2 separate regions of the Homo sapiens genome follow, and region 1 is linked to region 2. Evidence: promoter capture Hi-C in 16 types of primary human blood cells and fetal thymus (Javierre and others, 2016). All regions are on one chromosome and are shown on one strand. The core of a region is centred on a gene start or on the middle of the fragment in contact, and the rest is flanking DNA. Distances in the headings are between cores, read along the strand shown. Region 1 overlaps IST1 (IST1 factor associated with ESCRT-III). Region 2 holds the start of PHLPP2 (PH domain and leucine rich repeat protein phosphatase 2).

Region 1 (5,250 bases), core at 1,830-4,329, 180 kb after region 2:
CTGAAATCGCACCATTGCATTCCAGCCTGGGCAACAAGAGTGAAACTCGGTCTCAAAAAAAAAAAAAAAGATCAGAATAAATAAAATAACACACGTCAAAACCAAAAGCTTTTGTACGTATTGGAGTGTCTGTAGCCAGTCTTGACCTTGCTCTCTCCCCTCCTCACTTCGTACTTTTAGAGCTACAAACACTGAGTTTACTCCCTTAGGAAGTCTTTTTTTTTTTTTTTTTTTTTTTGGCTACTTTTAGCTGCTACTACTTTGAATAGAGCTTTCAGGATCACTACTTCTGGGCAGCTTCACTATTTTGGGCAGCAGTTCTGATTCTTTTCCTCCTCCAGATATCCTAAGAGGAAGGACTCAGTCCATGGTTTTACTTTGCTTATTCAGGATGGGGAGGCTAACTAGCTCGCGAAGTCTCAGCGAGCTGAGTGATAAAAGAGGAACTAGATGGGTTTGCTATGCCAGTGTTAAGAATTGGAGTAAAGTGAAGGATTGGGCTGCTGATCCATGTGTGACACTAATAAAAATAATGGTGTTACACTAATAAAGATAAGTATATATGTATATAAACAGAATACCGAGAACTAGGATTGTGGTCACTAGTTCATAACCATTTTTTAGAGTTTATGTTATAATTGCTTACTTGTCTTATAGTTGTTTTTATGTCAGCTATACCCATTTGATTGTGAGCCCCTTGAAGGCTAGGGAAGCTCTCATTTGAATGTCTGTTGTAGACAGTGGCTTAGCACAGTGCTTAATAGAATAGCACTCAATAAATATTTGGTGAGTGAGTGAATGACAGTAAAGATGTTGAAGCACAGTGATTTTAGAGTAACGTCTGAATCACAAAAAGAATTTTAGATTACTTACTGGACAATGTTAGTATGTGATGTGTATATAATCACATATGTATAAAAATTTGTTTATGTTTGTTAATGTATATATGAATAGTAAATGTTGACTAGAATATTTTATTAACTTTTAGGTTATTATTTCCAAAATTAATGTTCCTAATCATACAGGATAACAAAGTTTATGTTATGTTTAGCTTTGGAAACAGGTTCAAATTCTGAGATAGTAATTAAGTCAGTCTTTTGGTTTTTTTTCTTTTTTTTTGAGACGGAATCTTGCTCTGTCGCCCAGGCTGGAGTGCAGTAGCACGATCTCGGCTCACTGCAAGCTCCACCTCCCGGGTTCACGCCATTCTCCTGCCTCACCCTCCCAAATAGCTGGGACTACAGGCACCCATCACCACACCCAGCTAATTTTTTGTGTTTTTAGTAGAGATGGGGTTTCACTGCGTTAGCCAGAATGGTCTCGATCTCCTGACCTCGTGATCCACCCACCTCGGCCTCCCAAAGTGCTGGGATTACAGGTGTGAGCCACCGCGCCCTGCGTAGTCTTTTGCTTTAAATTCGTTTTTAGTCTGATTTATTTAATGTACTGGTAATCATTTAGGATATATCCTTTAGTTACTACTTTTGTGGTTTACTGTCATTGTCTTTAATGATTAGTTTCTTCGTAAAATGGGGATCTGTTGAATAGGAGTTGAAAAATCCTCAGTACTTAACAAAATAGTTTAGCAAATTGCTTTTCTTTCCTTAATTCTAAAACAAAACTAGATTATGTAAATTTGTAGAATTTTTTTAAAAGCATGTGGTTTTTAATTAAATTTTCTACTAATTAACATAATACATGAGCGACAGCTTTGTACAAAACACTGTGCTAGGCAGTGTGTGGGTGACATACCGTTCTAGGCAGTATGTAAGAAACAGTTGTCTTGCAGTGAGATTGAAACAGATTAATCAGAATTGTTAAACCGAGGGAAAAAGATATAAAGCATGCCTTAAACATCTTATTTTAACATAAAACACACAAAAGAGGCTAGCTAATCTTTAGATGAAGAGCTAAGACTTTTTAAAATATGGGTCCATTGACTGGAATTTATTTAACAAATGTTTACATGGTGCTTACTGTGTACATATAACACAATGTGCTAATTTCTTTACAAATTTTCACTTAATTCTCATACCAGCCCAAGAGGTGTGAAGGTTCATGTAATATTAGTACTGATTTTCCTCAGATGTTTGATAGAATTTGCCAGAGAAGCCACCTGGGCCTGGATTTTCTTTGGGAATGGTTCTTAATTTTAGATTTAATTGTTTTTTTTTTGAGACAAAGTCTGGCTCTGTCATCCAGGCTGGAATGCAGTGGTGTGATCTCGGCTCACTGCAACCTCCACCTCCTGGGTTCAAGCAATTCTTCTGCCTCAGCCTCCCGAGTAGCTGGGATTACAGATGCCTGCCACCACGCCTGGCTAATTTTTGTATTTTTAGTAGAGATGGGGTTTCACCATGTTGGCCAACCTGGTTTCGAACTCTTGACCACAAGTAATCTGCCCGCCTCGGCTTCCCAAAGTGCTGGGATTATAGGCGTAAGCCACCGCGCCCAGCCTAGATTCAATTTTTGTAATAGATCTAGTGCAGCTATATTTTCTATTTCTTTGTGTCAAATTTAGTAAATTTGAGTTTCTGAGGGATTTGTTTATTTCATTTAATTGTTGAATTTATAGATATATGTTGGTTATAATATCGCCTTTAAAAGTCTTTAGAATCTGTAGTGATATTCACCCTTTCATCGCTGATACTGATAATTTATATGTTTATATGTTCCTTTTCTTTGTGAGTTTGTTATATAGGTATGTCAGTTTTTAAAAAATCGTTTTGAAGAATCAGCATTTAGTTTCCTTGATTTTTTTTCTATTTTTTCTTCTATTTCATTGATTTTTGCTTTCTTTTTGTTGTTTTTGCTTACTTTGGTTTGATTTTGCTCTTTTTCTGGTTCCTTAATGTGGAAGCTTAGATTAGTAATTTGAGACCTTTTTTCTGGAGAGACAGAGTCTTGCTCTGTTGTCCAGCCTAGAGTGCAGTGGGCATGATCATAGCTCACTGCCTCCTCAAACTCTCGTGCTCACTGCCTCAGCCTTGCAAGTAGCTGGGACTCCAGGTGTGTGCCACCATGCCCTGCTAATGTTTTAATTTTTTTGTAGAGAATGGGGTCTTGCTACATTGTCCAAGCTGGTCTCAAACTCCTGGCCTCAAGTGATCCTCTCCCCTTGGCCTCCCAAAGTGCTGGAATTACAGGTGTGAACCACTGAGCCTGGCCTCTTCTTTTCTAATTAAAACCTTAATGATATAATTTTTTCTCTAAGCACTGCCTTAGCTACATCCCACAAATTCGTTACATATATATATTTTTTTTTTCAGTACAAACCTTTAAAAAATTTTTTTCACTTGAAGCTTTCTCTTTGACCTCCAAGCAGTTCATCTAGAAGTATATTGTTGAATTCCCAAATGTTAAGAGATTTTCTGTTGATTTCTAGTTTAATTCCATTACAGTTAAAGAACATTCTTGGTATGACTTCAATTCTATTTAATTTGGGTTTTGTTTTCCTCTTCTTTAAAAATTTAATAGAGACGAGGTCTTACTGTGTTACTCAGGCTGGTCCCTTGGCCTCAAACGATCCTTCTACCTCAGCCTCTCAAGTAGCTGAGGTTATAGGTGAGAGCTACCATGCCTGGTCCTATTTAATTTGTTAAGTTTGATTTTAGAACCCCAGCTATGTCCTACATTCATGAATGTTCTAGTACACTGCTGTGTTGGGTGTAATGTTCTGTAAGTGTCAGTGAGATGCCGTCAGTTGGTGGTGGTGTTCAGTTCACTGTCCTTGTTTGTGTTCTGTCTGCTAGGTTGATCAGTTATGGTGGGAGGTATGTTGAAGCCTCTAACTATAATTAGATTTATTTCTCCTTTCCTCTCTGTTAGTTTTTGCTTTTTGTTTTTGAAGCTCTGTTGTTGGGTGCATTCACAGTTAGGATTGTTGTATCTTCCTGGTGACTTCACCCTTTTATGCTTATGTAATGTCCTTCTGTATCCCTGGTTTTCCTTTCTCTGAAGTCTACTTTGTCTGATTTTAATGTAACCCCTCCAACGTTCTATTTGTTTGGTGGTGGTGGTGGTTGTTTTGAGACGGAGTTTCGCTGTTGTTGCCCAGGCTGAGTGCAGTGGTGTGATCTCCGCTCGCTGCAATCTCTGCCTGCCAGGTTCAAGCAATTTTCCTGCCTCAGCCTCCCAAGTAGCTGGGATTACAGGCTTATGCCACCACGCCTGGCTAATTTTTTATTTTTAGTAGAGATGGGGTTTCGTCATGTTGACCAGGCTGATCTCGAACTCCTGACCTAAGTGATCCACCTGCCTCGGCCTGCCAAAGTTTTGGGATTACAGGCGTGAGCCATTGCGCCCGGCCTGTTGTTTTGAGACAGGATCTTGCTCTGTTGCCCAGTCTGGAGTGCACTTGCACAAACATGGCTGTCTGCAGCCTTGACCTCCTGGGCTTAAGCAGTTCTCCCACTTCAGTCCCCCCGAGTAGCTGGGACTACAGGCACATGCTACCGTGTCCAGCTAATTTTTATTTTTAATTGTAGAGATGGGATCTTGCTCTTAGTCTGGTCTTGAACTCCTGAGCTCCAGCGATCCTCCCACATCAGCCTCCCAAAGTGCTGGGCTTACGGCATGAGCCACCATACCTGGCCTCCAACTTTCTTTTGATTAGTGTTTGCATATATACCTTTCCCATACTTTACTTTTAAACTACCTACATTATTATATTTGAAGTGAGTTTGTTGTTGACAGTATATAGTGGATCATTTTTTGGTTCATTCTCACAATATCTGTCTTTTAATTGTGTTTATACCATTTTCATTTAATTATGTAATTTTTGAATGTTTGAGTTTAGGTCTACATTTTATTATTTGTTTTCTGTTCTCTCATTTTTGTTTCTGTTTCCTGCTTTTTGAGCTATTTGAACATATTTTTAAATTCCATTAAAAAATTTTTTTTTTGCTTTTTTTGTGTAGTATTTTTGTTTTTTTGTTTTTTGAGATGGAGTCTCACTGTGTCACCCAGGCTGGAGTGTAGTGGCGTGGTCTCAGCTCACTGCAGCCTCTGCCTCCCGTGTTCAAGCAATTCTCCCGCCTCAGCCTCCCAAGTAGCTGGGACTGCAGGTGCGTGCCATCACACCGGGCTAATTTTTGTATTTTTAGTAGAGATGGGGTTTTACTATGTTGGCCAGGCTGGTCTCGAACTCCTGACCTCGTGATCCACCCACCTTGCCCTCCCAAAGTGCTGCGATTATGGGCATGAGCCACCATGCCTGGCCGTATACAATTTTTTAGTGGTTGCTCTAGG
Region 2 (5,861 bases), core at 952-3,451:
TTTACGTTGTTCCATGGATTCACTGGGTTCTATTATTGTTTTTCCGTGTTCCCATCTTTGTAACATCGTACTAACCTTCATAACATGTAAATACTGCTGAACCTCAATCCCAATAAACTACTAAAGGATTTTTAACATCATACGTTTTGTTTTGCAATGTATTTTTGAAACACATCAAATTTAAATTTTCTTTCCTTTCCATCCTTCTACTGGGCAAGTTTCATATCCTGAATTCCTCATGTAGAACTCTAGAAGGAATTCCATTCCACCTGCGGAAGGACACCTAGTTTACGTATTTGACCTACAGAAAAATTTCTCTGCAACTCTTTCAAATGCTAGTAAAAAACTCCACCCAGTCAGCCTCCCACAACCCCTCCCTTTAACCATCTTCTCCTCCCCACTATCGCCACCCTACCTTGTGCATTCCTTCGTAAACTTACTTCTCATCACCTTCAAGGTTCCACTCCCCTCTTGCCTACATCTGTTTTCATATCCTCCCACTCCCCCAATTCCTGCCAAGAAGCCCCGCTAGCTGCCTGTTGCATAACGGCTCCCCCATTCCGTCTCCCTCGGCAGTCGGCCCCGCTCCCGGGAGCAGGAATGCCCCTTTCGGCCCGGCCCCTCCTCCCTTCCGCAACACGCCCAGCAAGTCCCCGCGACGCAGCTCCAGCGGGGATTCTCTCTCCAAGCTGGGCGGGTCGTCCTTGCCGGCTGGCACCTCGGGTAGCGAGCCCCGAGGGCAGAGGAGCCGGCTCCACCCGGCCTGGCCCCGAACCCTCCGCGGCGCCGGCCAATCGCCGCTGCCATCCTCCCGCTGGGGTGATGTCTTCAGGTGTCCGGGAGGGGAGAAAGCCCTGCGTACTTCCAGCCCCGCTCCTGTGCCAGGAACCGGCGGCCCTCCGAGCCCTCCGGAGCCGGCCTCCGGGCCCCGAGCGCGGCGAGGCAAGCAGGGGCGGCGAAGGGTCCGGGTGGGCGGCGGCTACCCGCAGCCCAAAGGCGTGGGCCTGCGAGGCGGGCGGCGCGCGGCCAGGGATGGGCAGCAGCGGGGTACCGAGGCGCCGAGGCCTGGACGCGGGCGCGGCGCGGAGGCCTCGGCGTCCCCAGCCGGGTGTGGGGCGGCCGACTGACTGACGCCGGGCGGGGGCCGCCGACTGCCTCAGCCACTGCGCGGGGCGGGGGCGGCAGCGGCCTCTAGCCTCCCTCGTTCCCTCCCTAGTCCGCTTGCCCGCTCGCCCGCTCGCTCGCTCGCTGGTCCATCCGCCTCCTCACCTTCAGGACCCGGATCCCTCCCGGCCGGCGGCTCGCGGGCGCTTCGGGCGGCTCCGGGGGCTCCAGCGGGCCCGCGGGCCCCGGCTCCACCTCCCCCATCGGCGACCCAGGATTCACAGAGACGCCCGGCCCGCGCGACGGCGTGCGGAGCCTCGGCGGCGCGCGCGAGCAACCGGTGGCCCCGCCCCCCGCGGCCCGCCGGCTCCGCCCCTCCGGCGGCTCGCCAGCTCCGCCCCTCCCGCAGCCCCGCTGGACCTAAGCAGCTGCCGGCGCCGAGTGGCCCGGGCGCCACCGAGCCGCATTCCGGCCGCGGCCCGCGTGGCGGAACCTGGCACCACCGCAGAGCGCTGGGCCTCCACTGCCCGCCGCCCTAGGCTTGGAGGACTAGAGCGCAAGGAGGGGTATTTGCTGCTTTCCCCGCCCTCTAAGAAACCCGCGGGAGAAAGAAGCAGGTGGCGCCGGCACCTGTCAATTGTGACAAGACGCTGCCCTCCGCCAGGGTGGCTCTTGTAACTTCCCTCACCTGCCAAGCCGTTGAACGAACTGTTGAGAATACTCACCTTGGCAAGGCCTTTTCTCTTCCTTATCAGAGATGCGTGCGACCTTCTTAAGCAAATTCAACCCAACCTCGTACAAAACGTCCGCTCACCTCCCAGCCATGTTTTAATTCCCTTGCCTCCTCCTGGAGCAAAATTATCAGAATTCGGTGCTCTGCTTCAAGCAGTAATATGGCCTGTGACCCGGTTTATGATTTATTTGCAAGGCTGATTCAGAAAAAAACTTTTAAAAGTTAACTTCTTTTCTTTTCTTTGTTTTGTTTTTCTTTTCGTTCTCGCAGTGATAGTAGTTTTGTTGCCAATGGGCCAAATTTGGAGTCAGCCAGCCTGTTTCCAGATCTCCCCTCTGCCCTTCTTTAGATCTATACCCCTGTGCAAGTTACTTGATCTAAGCCTTTCGTTCTTAAGCTGTGAGAAAGAGATTAAAATCTGCCAAGTAGTTATGATGAAGATTTAGTGCATACAAAGTGCCTAACGTATAGTGGGGATCCATAGTAGCCATTATAATTCCAAAATTCTAAATTGAAGATCCAATCGGTTTCTCGAAAAGTACTCTGTCGATTCCTCCTAAATTTTCCTAGGAAGGCTTCTAGACTTCCAGATTTTTAGGGCTTCCCCTCATACATAGGGTGTTGAATCTTCAAGCAACTTGTAAGGAATTAGACAGCAAAAAACAGTAATTTCTTCACTTTCATAGAACTGTAATTCCAGTACTTTGGGAAGCCAAGGCAGGCAGATTACTTGAGGCCAGGAGTCCGAGACCAGCCTGACCAACATAGCGAAACCCTGTCTATACCAAAAATACAAAAAAATGAGCTGGGCAGGGTGGCGCACGCCTGTAATCCCAGCCACTTGGGAGGTGGAGGCAGGAGAATCGCTTGAACCCGGGAGGCGGAGGTTGCAGTGAGACGAGATCGTGCCACTGCACTCCAGCCTGGGTGACAAAGCAGGACCCTTTGTCCCTATTATCCATTGCTTCAGTTTGCCTCATTCAGACTAACTGTATGTCTAGAATAATTGCAGGCTTAGTACAAGACTTTTAGATTTAACAGAGCAGTCTGTGTCCCCCATCTGAGATATGTATCCATTTGGAGATATTTTAAATGCCAGGACCAAATTTGGCTCTTGCAGGTTCCGACCCCTTTCTGACCTACTTTCTCCCTTCACAAGTTAGCTTTGTATATACCAAAATTCCAATCTCCAGTAATCTTCATTTCTTGGCCTCATTTTAATGCATTAAAAACGATTTGTCACTGTGAGTCTGGTTTAAGGTGGGAGAAAACTCTTAGGTCATCCACCTCCTGGATTTTCCTTCCACCTTGAAATTATTTTCAGGAAAGGTACTCAAAGTAGTTGGATTCCCATTTCAGTGCTTACTGGGTAATTTCTCCCAACAAGAAAACTGGTATATAAGCAATAGGCACCAATATGGAGACAGAAGCAAATTTTAACAAGGGCAGGCAAGCAGTGATAAGAAAAAAATGTGGTTTAGAACAAGTGTTTCTGGCTGGGTGCAGTGGCTCATGCCTGTAATTCAGCACTTTGGGAGGCCAAGACGGGCAGATCACCTGAGGTCAGGAGTTTGAACCCAGCCTGGCCAACATGGCAAAACCCCATCTCTACTAAAAATACAAAAATTAGGCAGTGTGGGGGCACGAGCCTGTAGGCCCAGCTACTCAGGAGGCTGAGGCAGGAGAATCACTTGAACTTGGGAGGTGGAGGTTGCAGTGAGCCGAGATATCGCGCCACTGCACTGCAGTCTGGGTGACAGAGGGAGACTCTTGTCTCAAGGAAAAAAAAAAGTGTTTTTCAAAAGCCTTTTATATTTTTTTTATTTTTGAGACAGGGTCTCGCTTTGTTGCTCAGGCTGGAGTACGGTATGGACACAATCATAGCTCACTGCAGGTTCAACCTCCATGGGCTAAGGTGATCATGCCACCTCAGCCTCCCAGTAGCTGGGACCACAAGTGAGCACCACCCTACGCTTGGCTACTTTTTGCATTTTTTTTGTAGAGATGGGGCTTCACCATATTGTCCAAGCTGGTCTCGAACTCCTGAGCTCAAGCCATCCGCCCACTTCAGCCTCCCAAAATGCTGGGATTACAGGTGTGAGCCACCACACCTGGCTGTAAGAGTCTGTTTCTTGAGGCATTATACATTACCTTTTCCAGATTTCATGAGTAGAAGCTCTTTATTGACTGACTACACAAAAAGGAAAGATCTTGTTGCAGAACTAAAGTTTCAGCTCATGCTGGGGAACAGCAGTGGTGAATAATTGTTTAATTAAAGGGATAGTAGGCATAAGCATTGCTATTTACTTCTTCATTCTGGCAACAGTAGTTCCTCTTTCAAAAGGGAAAACATAAAAAAAAAAACCCATCCGCCCAAAAGTTTCAGGGGCTAATTTATGATGTAACTACCTTTAATGGTTCCCATGATTTAAGATCCAATTCAGTAGTGACAACCAGTTGATTTTTTTCAAATCATGTAGTGCCATTAACATTTTATACTTTGTTTCAAAGGTCACATATTGATGTTCTCCCCCAGTTCAAGGCACTGTGCATTATGTATGCCAAGGGTTATGTAACTACAATTTCTGGAAATGGTAAACAGCTGAGACTAACCCTAAAAATAAATTCCTCTGGGATTTTTTTTGTGCGAAAATCCATCTGCCCTCACTGCAGGTTCATCATTACAAAAATCACTGTTTAGCTCAAACCAAGAGACAGAGAAGTCATCATGATCTCTCCTTTCTGTCTCCTTCCTGTAGCAGCTGTGCTTCCCCTCTCTGGTATGTACACACGCACACACCTTCTTTATGCCAGGAGCTTTTCCAGATCTTCACTACAAAATGGGAAGTCTGGAGAAGGGAAGCTCATGCCTATCAGATGTTGGGAGAGGAAGCAGATGAGACTTATATTTACTTATTTATATCTAGTACGCACTCCAGTGATCCACAAAGTCATCTTTGGGCCTAAATCCCTTGTTATTCTACCAATAGGTTAAGCAGATTTGGATATTCCTAATTTTGGTTCCAAATAAACAGGCAGTGTTTACCTAGCTTCAAAGTTTGGAGAATTTTTCTGTGAACATTTTGATATTTTTCAAATATGGGGACAATTGAATTGACAATTGAAGACATAGGATAGAAAACCCTTAAAAGTGATAAAAATTAATTTGGTGCTTCTGAATTGAAATTCAGATCTGAATACTATTTGTTGTATTGTTAAATGTCTATTACTGGCTAAACTTTTCTATTTTCCTCTAATTACATGAAGGTGCCAACTAAATTTAATATTAGAAACAACTATGAATTTTAACTAACTCATACATAAGATTATAGAAATGTTGCTTATCAAACAGTACCAAAGGGCACTTCTGCATAAACTAGATAACTGCCAGGGCCTACACCCTTCCCCTTTTCAATCGGGACTATCACACTCTCCCCTTTCTCAATCAAGGGACTGTCAGGGATCATCAGAATAACAGAAAACCTAAAGCTACCAACCTCCAAAACACAGAGTTGACAGCCAGGCACAGTGACTCACGCCTGTAATCCCAGAACTTTGGGAGGCAGAGGCTAGTGGATCACTTGAGCCCAGGAGTTTGAGACTAGCTTGGGCAACATAGTGAGACCCTGTCTCTACCAAAGGAAAAAAAAAAATACAAAAATTAGCCAGGCATGGTGGTGCATGCCAGTAGTCCCAGCTACTAGAACGGCTGAGGTGGGAGGACTGCCTGAACCAGGGCAGTCAAAGCTGAAGTGATCAGTGACCGCACCACTGCACTCCAGCTGGGTGACACAGCGAGACTCTGTCTTAAAAAAAGACAAGCCAGGTGCGGTGGCTTACGCCTGTAATCCCCGCACTTTGGGAAGTTGAGGCAAGAGGATTGCTTGAGGCCAAGAGTTCAAGACCAGCCTAGGCAACATAGCAAGACCACATCCCTACAAAAGTTAATATATACAAAATACACAGTTCATATAAAATAGACCATGAAATATAACTCATTTTGACTGGTCAAGCCTTCCTCTGC

The links. The method cuts DNA at HindIII sites, captures the fragments that hold promoters and counts their contacts. A CHiCAGO score of 5 or more calls a contact.
Region 1: a contact is called between a fragment that was not itself captured here and the fragment with the promoter of PHLPP2 in region 2, in 1 of 17 cell types (non-activated CD4 T cells). The highest score is 5.7, in non-activated CD4 T cells.

The regions. Positions count from the first base shown.
Region 1 is chr16:71,900,113-71,905,362 of GRCh38, forward strand. All of the region lies in intron 1 of IST1 (IST1 factor associated with ESCRT-III), which reads left to right. Among named protein-coding and RNA genes, the nearest start is that of IST1, 7.2 kb to the left of the region's middle. The HindIII fragment of the contact is 442 bases long and covers 2,859-3,300 here.
Region 2 is chr16:71,722,500-71,728,360 of GRCh38, forward strand. It overlaps PHLPP2 (PH domain and leucine rich repeat protein phosphatase 2), which reads right to left and starts at 2,202. Exons shown (of 19, transcript NM_015020.3): 1 at 1,830-2,202. RefSeq lists an enhancer at 539-1,040 and silencers at 806-1,775, 5,558-5,627. The HindIII fragment of the contact is 20,650 bases long and covers 1-5,861 here.